Regions from separate parts of the Homo sapiens genome. Here region 1 is linked to region 2. Evidence: promoter capture Hi-C in human tissues and cell types (Jung and others, 2019). All regions are on one chromosome and are shown on one strand. The core of a region is centred on a gene start or on the middle of the fragment in contact, and the rest is flanking DNA. Distances in the headings are between cores, read along the strand shown. Region 1 overlaps DLGAP2 (DLG associated protein 2). Region 2 holds the start of CLN8 (CLN8 transmembrane ER and ERGIC protein).

What was found. Contacts are between HindIII fragments. The study calls those that stand out against the background at their distance.
Region 1: a contact is called between a fragment that was not itself captured here and the fragment with the promoter of CLN8 in region 2, in 1 of the 25 tissues and cell types used here (thymus).

Annotation. Positions count from the first base shown.
Region 1 is chr8:741,456-745,805 of GRCh38, reverse strand. The region is part of intron 1 of DLGAP2 (DLG associated protein 2); the gene reads right to left. Among named protein-coding and RNA genes, the nearest start is that of DLGAP2, 6.0 kb to the right of the region's middle. The HindIII fragment of the contact is 7,091 bases long and covers 1-4,350 here.
Region 2 is chr8:1,762,095-1,765,998 of GRCh38, reverse strand. CLN8 (CLN8 transmembrane ER and ERGIC protein) reads right to left here and starts at 2,210. Exons shown (of 3, transcript NM_018941.4): 1 at 2,114-2,210. CLN8-AS1 (CLN8 antisense RNA 1) reads left to right here and starts at 1,415. Exons shown (of 2, transcript NR_134303.1): 1 at 1,415-1,565; 2 at 3,071-3,904. The HindIII fragment of the contact is 16,643 bases long and covers 1-3,904 here.

The sequences.
Region 1 (4,350 bases), core at 517-3,016, 1.0 Mb after region 2:
CGTTCTCTTTACTTAATATGGTATGAACACCTTCTTATAGAATTAGGTACTTAACTTTCATGTTTTTGTGGATGTGTATTTTTTATAACATTGCTGTACCACCATGAATTTACCCAATCCTGTTACTGCTGTTTTCCAATATTATACTATGAAACAAAACTGGAGGGAACATCCACTTAGCTAACTTATTGTAAATTCATGATTATTTCCTTAGGAAAAGTTTCCAGAAGTGAAATTGCTGGGATAGTTACATGTAAAGAAGAGTTTTTTTAAAATTGAGTGCTGCGACTCTTGAGAAAATATCATTAGAGAAGCAAGTAGCTGGATAAATTGAAGACTGAGAAATACTGTTTGGTTGCTTTAAAGAACTACGGAACTCAAGTTTCACCAACAAAAATAAAACTTTGAATCTAATTATAGTGACAACCTAGAACATTTTGTTTCAGACCCAGTAGTGCTTCATTCTGAAATGGCCACAACAAAAGGTTGAAACTACAATTCTCAATTGTTTATGCAAATTTCTAAATTATATATAGTATAGCCAGAAAACAGATGTTCGGAAATTTGCTCAGAATGTCAAAATATTACAAAGAATGTTACAAAATGGAAATTATTTTTAAAGAGCTAAAGGTTTCATATTAAAGACCAAGAAAAAAGGTAAAGAACCTGCCGCTGTGCTTGTCTCCAGCACCCACAACTCGGAAGCAGCGGGAGAAGGGACGGTGGCGTAACGAGGCATTCACGGTGTGTATTTACGAGTTCATGCAACTGTTTATCCAGTGACATGGCCTAAAACCCTGCGGCAGGTGTGGGGATGGCCTGGGCTACCCCTTCCCGCCATCTCTGCTGCACTGAGGACAGCATGCGGACAGACTGGGGGATGGGGAAGCCGGGACCCAGTCCAAGCGAGGAATTCGGAGGCTGGGAGCATGACCTCACTCAGGCATCGGGGCCGGGGAAGCAGCATTCCAACTAGGTTTGAGAGAACAGACATGAGGAAAGGACGGAATGAAAAGCACCGTCCAGTGTGGGTGAAGCCAGAGTGTTGCTGGGGCACAGCCCAGGCAGGGAACAGGGAGTGACCGTGGGAAGCAGACAGCCAGCACCCCGGGAGGGCGACGTGGCCGGAGAAGAGGCAGGGAGTGACCGTGGGGAGCAGACAGCCAGCACCCCGGGAGGGCGACGTGGCCGGAGAAGAGGCAGGGAGTGACCGTGGGGAGCAGACGGCCAGCACCCCGGGAGGGCGACGTGGCCGGAGAAGAGGCAGGGAGTGACCGTGGGGAGCAGACGGCCAGCACCCCGGGAGGGCGACGTGGCCGGAGAAGAGGGAGGGACGCAGGTTGGGCTGGGGAATCTGTACCTCGAGGAGGCGTCAGCCCCTCTTCTGCACCTTCACCCATTCAGATCATTAGATGCGACCCAGGGCCAGGGTTCAAGGGTGATCAAGACCCTTCCTCACAGAGTGGCTATTCCAATACATCAAAGACAAGGAAAGTGGGAATTACAAGGTGGTGAGAGGTGTCACCCTAACAGTCAGAGCACAGAGAAACCTTCCCAACCCAATCTCGTGGGTCGGGGGTATATGTGGAGAGGAGACGCTGCCTCTAAGCTTGCTGAGCGAACGAGCACTTCTTCCCAACGCACAAGATGAGAGACAGAAGAGGGAAGCGGCGCTGGGTCTGAGAGAACCACGATGATGGCTCCATCCATAGACTGCCACGGCCACCAGAACAAGTCACTTCCTTCAGCTAAAACAGGTGTCTGGGCATTTAGATGCAAAGACTCAGAGGAAACGTGAAGGCACGTGAAACTTGAGAAACTGCTGTTGTCTGCAGGACACACGACGTGAATCCACGTCTTCAGCCCTAAACCACAGTAGCTTAGTGAGTGATCCAGACATGAAGACCCGGCCACGGAAATCACATGCAAATACCAGCAAAAGGCATCGCGCAGTGGCCCATGCCCACAATCGCAACATTTTGGGAGGCTGGGGTAGGCTGATGGCTAGAGCCCAGGAGTCAGAGTCTAGTCTGGACAACATGGTGAAACCCCATCTCTACTAAAAATACAAAAAATTAGCTGGGTGTGGTGGTGCACGCCTGTAGTCCCAGCTACTCGGGAGGCTGAGGTGGGAAGATCGCTTGAGCCCAGGAGGTCAAGGCTGCAGTGAGCTGAGATTATGCCACTCACTCCAACCTGAAACACAGGAGTGAGACCGTCTCTAAATAAGTAAGTAAATAAATACCAAGAAGAGGTCATCAGTGCTGAGGGTAGGCTGTGCATGTGAGTTTTGCTTTTGGTTTATTTCAAAGAAACCAAATCAAGACAAAATCATTAAAAAATACTTCTGTATTTTTAACTGTTATATATTACACAACCCCAGCCCCTGAATATAAGATCTACCCTCAGAACATCTCTTACAAGTTAGTGCCAGAGAAAATTTATCTTCACCAAAAAATGAGTATGCAACGTCTACCCTGAAAGCATGATCCTCAGGTTGAACATGGCTTTGTAGTTTTGGGTTTTGTTGACTTGACTCCCTGGAAGCTCAGTGTCAAACGTGATGCCCAGAGAATTACATCCATCCTCATGGTTATCACATGTGTTTCTTCCGATTTTCTATTTCTATTTTCTAATTAGCATTTTTTCCCTTGTCCTTCTGTGGTTAAGTTGGGTCCAAAACTTTTTGGAAAGTGGCAAGAGATATACAAAAAAGTAAAACAAGACCAGAAATAATAAATAAAACAGTTTTGAGAGAAATCAAAGAGTTGCTTGATAACTTCCATTGTGGACTGACTCAAAGTAGGCCTCAATTGTATTTTTTCATGATAAAAATAGTCAAGACTAATCCAGCATTTCCTACGTGCACCATTCTTATCACTTTACAGTCATGAATTCATTTAATCCTCCTTAACCCTATCAAGTTAATATTGCATTGGCCCCACTCTTAGTGATGAGAAAACTGAAATACGGTGAGGTCAAATAAAGAGCCAAATGCAGCTGGGAAAAGTGACTCACTCCTGTAATCCCAGCACTTGAGGAGGCCAGGGCAGGAGGATTCCTTAAGGACAGGAATCTAAGGCCAGCCTGGGCAACACTGCAAGACCTCCGTCTCTACCAAAAAAAAAAAAAGTAAAAATTAGTTGGGTGCGGTGACATACACCAACTACTAGACAGGCTGAGGTGGGAGGATCACTCGTGCCCAGGAGGTCAAGACTGCAGTTAGCTATGATCATGCCAGTGCACTCCCGCCTGGGTGACAGAGGGAGACCCTGTCTCTAAAAAGCCACTTGCAATGCTGTGCAAAAGTCACAGGACAAACATTCGTTACACACAAAAGGATGTTTTTCAATACCGCCTAACTTAAAATACATACTCTATGGACCCTTGAGATCATTCCCATTTTTCTTCTTTTGTACAGAGTATGAAACATTTTAAAGACAACGATCAGTCAGATTCACAGGTTACTTTAAAAATTTTTAACACAAGTTTACAGATGGGCTATTTCCAAATGTTTATTCATTGTTTAAAATGGTTGATTTAAATTTTTCTCTTTTTTTCCTGCCGATACACACGATGTACCATATAAGAAACAGTACCCGAAGATGAATAAGCCTTTCCCTGCAACAAGAGGTTTAATGTGGAAATGTCTGAAGAAACTAAAAGCCCATACATCCCATTTGCTTGTCAGGGACAGAAAACTCAGTTCAAAGAAACAATCTCCTGGTTTATGTAACTGAAAGTCACGGGGTAATGATGGTTCAGGCATAACTTAGTTCAGAGCTTCCAACAGCATCCTCAGGACCAAGCTCTCTGCATAACAGCCGCCCTTCTCCTCCACAGACAGATGAGGAAGGTGTCATTTCCAGACAGGCCATCCCTGCAAGGCTGTGCACTGATGCCACAACTGCAGGCCTTACACCTTTCCCGCTGTTTTTCCTAAAGCTTTCCTCTCCTTGAAAGTTCCCGCTCTTCACTCATCCAATTGCTCTTGAGAGGGAGTTAGGGCTCCGGCCAGTCAGGAGCCACCTCTGACGGGAAGTAGGGTCCGCCAAGCCAACCCCATGAGGTGGCAGGTGTTCCCTAAGGGGAGCTGGCTGCTGCCTGGAAAGGGAAGCGTACACTGAACTGCAAATACACTGGAGTCTGCAGTAACGGGTCTAGAAAGCTCAACTCCTGAAGGCCCGCCAATAAATACAGACAGGACACTTCCAGAACTAAGGCAACTGACATCCCACATGAAGACACTGCCATCAAGTCAGGAGAGGTGCACCTGCAGCGGACACCCATCACCGGGATGTCAGAACACCCAGGCCCCTCTCCTGGAGCTAAAGTTAAGGGACTGCATGT
Region 2 (3,904 bases), core at 961-3,460:
GCTATGGATACCAGCATTTTTGTTTTTCATTGAGATAATTTATCCAAACTTGGAAGTGACGTCAAAAGGGAAAAAAAAGGTTGCATGCTTTTTTCCCTGCTAACGCAAGTTCAGTGTTTTACAACCCCAACAATCACTTGACTTTCTAGGAGAAATAACTAAACTATTTACCACTGATTGTGGGTCACGCATTTTACAATCTGCAAAGCTAATTCTCCTTTCCATCAAGAAGAAAAGACAATCCCAAAGGCTGTGGTTTCAATGCACACAGGATATTCACCAATCTTATTATCTAATCTGGCAATCTTCTCTCAGCATTCCTGTTACCCACTCACTAAGAAAATCCTAGTTTTGTGTATTCTCTTTTGAACTGACATTCCTATCCTGCTGTATACTGCATTAATGACTGAAATATAACCTGACAAGAGCTATTTACATGAGAATTATACTTCTAACATTTTGAAAATTATACATTGATGGGTTGTAAAAATGTTTTCCAAAATCAACAGAAATACATGTTTAATACACAAAATTCAGAAAATATAAACAAGCATAAAAATACAAAAATAAAAATTTACAATCCTCTTACACAGCTCCAAGCACCATCACTATTTTTTGGTGCCTGCTGGGTCAATTGTTTTTCTAGATATAAACTCTTCTTTTTACATAAAAGGGGATAACAGTATACAAGCTGCTCCCCGGCCTGCTTCTCTTCTCTCAGCAACAGCTAATCCTCCTCTGCAACACGGTTGCAGGGACTCCACCATTTACCTACCCGGTGTCCTACCAGGCTTTTGCCCAGTTCCTCGTTATCAGAAGACATTGTGTATTGAACATCTCTGAGGCCACCTAGAGAACCTGTGCTCTTTGTATGGAAACTGGATGCTCAGGAAGAACTTCCTTAACAACCACAGCCTCCATGACGGCCAATCTGAAAGTGAGGCACAGAAGTGTTCAAGCTCAGTGGGGAGCTGTGGCCATCTCATATTCCCTCAATCACTCACACTTCCTGCACCATTGCTCTTTCCTCTCACAACCTTCCTGAAAAGTTGTATGTAAATAAAAATCAAAATACGGGAGTGAGGTAAGCAGAAGCTGGATAGTTACAGATTTCACACAGAGGGTAAACTGAAACAGGAGTCAGAAGCAGCCGCCTCGCGCCAGTCTTTCAGAGAAGAGTCACTTACAGCAGAATCTACACAGGCTGGGGAGCCCCTGGCTCCCCTCCCTACTGTCCACACCCAACCCCAACCTAGAGCAGCTGGCTATAGGGCCCAGAGCCCAGGCGGGTCCCACCTCCTGCTGACCTGACCCAGCGCCCGCTCTCTCCCCCGCACACTTTGGTGACCTTACCCAGCGTCCCTCCCCGCTCCTACAGGTTCTGACTGACCCAGCGTCCCTCCGCCTCCCACACCATGTTGAGCTGCACCTTGTCCCCTTCCGCCCCAGCTAACTCGGTGACCAGTGGAGGCCACACCCACGTGACACCTGCTGTCCTTGACAGCAGCTCCGACGGCACCTCTGTGGCTCTGCAGGAGCCGCCTCCCCGCCTCGTGGGCACACAGGTGAGCTGACCGTACTTGCCCAGCCGGTCTGAGGGAAGCGAGGTCAGGGGCGACGGCGCCGCCTCCGCCTCCGCCTGTCCCCTCCCTCCGTCCGGCATCCGCGCCGCTCAAGGACTCCAAAGTCAGCGTCGCGGTGAGGAGCCCCCCACGCCCAACCCGCGCAGGCAGGACCCCGGGCTGCGGGGCTCGAAAGTCCCCCACAAGCTGCTGTCCGGGAACCGCACGGCCCGGGGTGCCGCACGCCCACCGGAAGGCAGGGCTGGGACCGCGGACGCCAGGAGCCACCCCGGCCCCTCACCCGGGCTCCCCCTCACGTGGGCTCCCGCGCGCCCATCTGGGTTCCCCCTCAGCTGAGTTCCCGGCCCCTCACCTGGGATCCCCGGTCCCCTCACCCGGGCTTCCCAGCCCCCTCGCCTGGGCTCCACGCGCGCTCACCTGGGCTGCCCCTCACCTGGGTTCCCGGCCCCTAACCCGGGCACCCCGCGCGCTCACCTGGGCTGCCCCTCACCTGGGTTCCCGGCCCTCACCCGGGCTCCCTGAGCGCTCACCTGGGCTGCCACTCAGCCGGGCTCCCTGCGCTTGGCGCCGCCCCGCCCCTGCAGGACTCCCGGCAGTCACTGACCTCATTGCCGCCCAGTCACGACTGGCCGGCCTCAAACACCGCCCGCGCACGCGCGTTCGCACGCGCGTGCGCACGCGTTCTGCCCCCCTGGGGGCGTCGCTACGAGAGGCCCCGCCTAGGCGCTACGACGGCGGCGGGCGCGGGAGGGGCGGGGCGGCGGGCGCGGGAGGGGCGCGGCGGGGGGCGGGGCGCGGCGCGGGGGGCGGGGCGCGGCGGGGGGCGGGGCGCGGCGGGGGGCGGGGCGCGGCGGGGGGCGGGGCGCGGCGGGGGGCGGGGCGCGGCGGGGGGCGGGGCGCGGCGGGGGGCGGGGCGCGGCGGGGGGCGGGGCGCGGCGGGGGGCGGGGCGCGGCGGGGGGCGGGGCGCGGCGGGGGGCGGGGCGCGGCGGGGGGCGGGGCGCGGCGGGGGGCGGGGCGCGGCGCGGCGGGCGCTGTGGGGCGGCGGGGTGGACGCGCTGAACCACGGCCGGCGGGAGGGGCGGGGCCGGGCTGAACCATGGCGGGCGGCGGCATGGGGGCGGTGGGGCTCCGCGGGCAGCCTGGTTGCGCTGCACCCGGACGGGGCCGAGGGGACCTGAAAGCTGCGGCAGAGCCTGACCGCGCCGTTCTCCAGAAGAGCCCCGGCCGCGGCTGAGTCGCGCTCCGGGTGTGGACGGAGCCGGAGCCTCCCCGGGGCTCGGTGAGGACACAGGGCCCAAGCCCCGGACCTTCAAGTCTTGACCGAGCGCATCCCCGGCCCTTCTGCGCCCACACCTGAGTTTTTGTCTGTAGGAGTTTCCGCAGTTTGCTAAGGTTGTTATTCGAGTTACTTATGTTTCTTCTCTCTAAGGTTGTTATTCGAGTTACTTATGTTTCTTCTGTCTAATGTGTTTTGTTCCCTCTTTAGAATCGACATCTAGAGGAGTACTCACCACTTAATTGATGATCAATACACGTTCCTTGAAAGAACCGATAGCATGCGATCGATACAGAGCATCTGCACTGGGATTGTCCGCCCCGCCTGTCAGGGAGGCCTCGGGGGCTAATGGAGCTGAGGGTATAGTCGGCCTTGGACCCTCGCTTTTTTCCTTTCCTGTACTATGAAGATAACTGCCTTATCTCCCCCTCAGGACTGTTTTGGGGATTAAATAGGACGTTTAAATTACCAACGCTCTTTGAAATAAACATTTCAAAATTATTATAACCCTTTAGTACATGTGGGAAAACGTTGACATTCATGTTCAAGTTTATTTTTCTGCTGGCTCATTTAGGTTTGTTGAAGCCTTGAGTCCCTAGGATTGTCTAAGAACATGGGTAAATGTGTGTGGAGGCCTCCCTGGAGGCCAGAGAACTGCCAGCAGCCTTCATGATGTTAGGGGAACAGGAACCTAGGAGAGCCAGGGTGACATCGTTTTAAAATCAACAACCCATCTTGGCGGGCGCGGTGGCTCAAGCCTGTAATCCCAGCAGTTTGGGAGAAAAAAATTAGCCGGGTGTGGTGGTGGGCACCTGTAATCTCAGCTACTCAGGAGGCTGAAGCAGAATTGCTTGAACCCAGGAGGCAGAGGTTGCAGTGAGCTGAGATCACGCCATGGCACTCTAGCCTGGGCAACAAGAATGAAACTCTGTCTCAAAAAAATAAAAATAAAATAAAATAAACTCCATCTTAAAACCAGTGAAACCACCATTGCAAAATTATAACTGAGACAGTGAGAGATCTGACCTAACCAACTCCATCCTA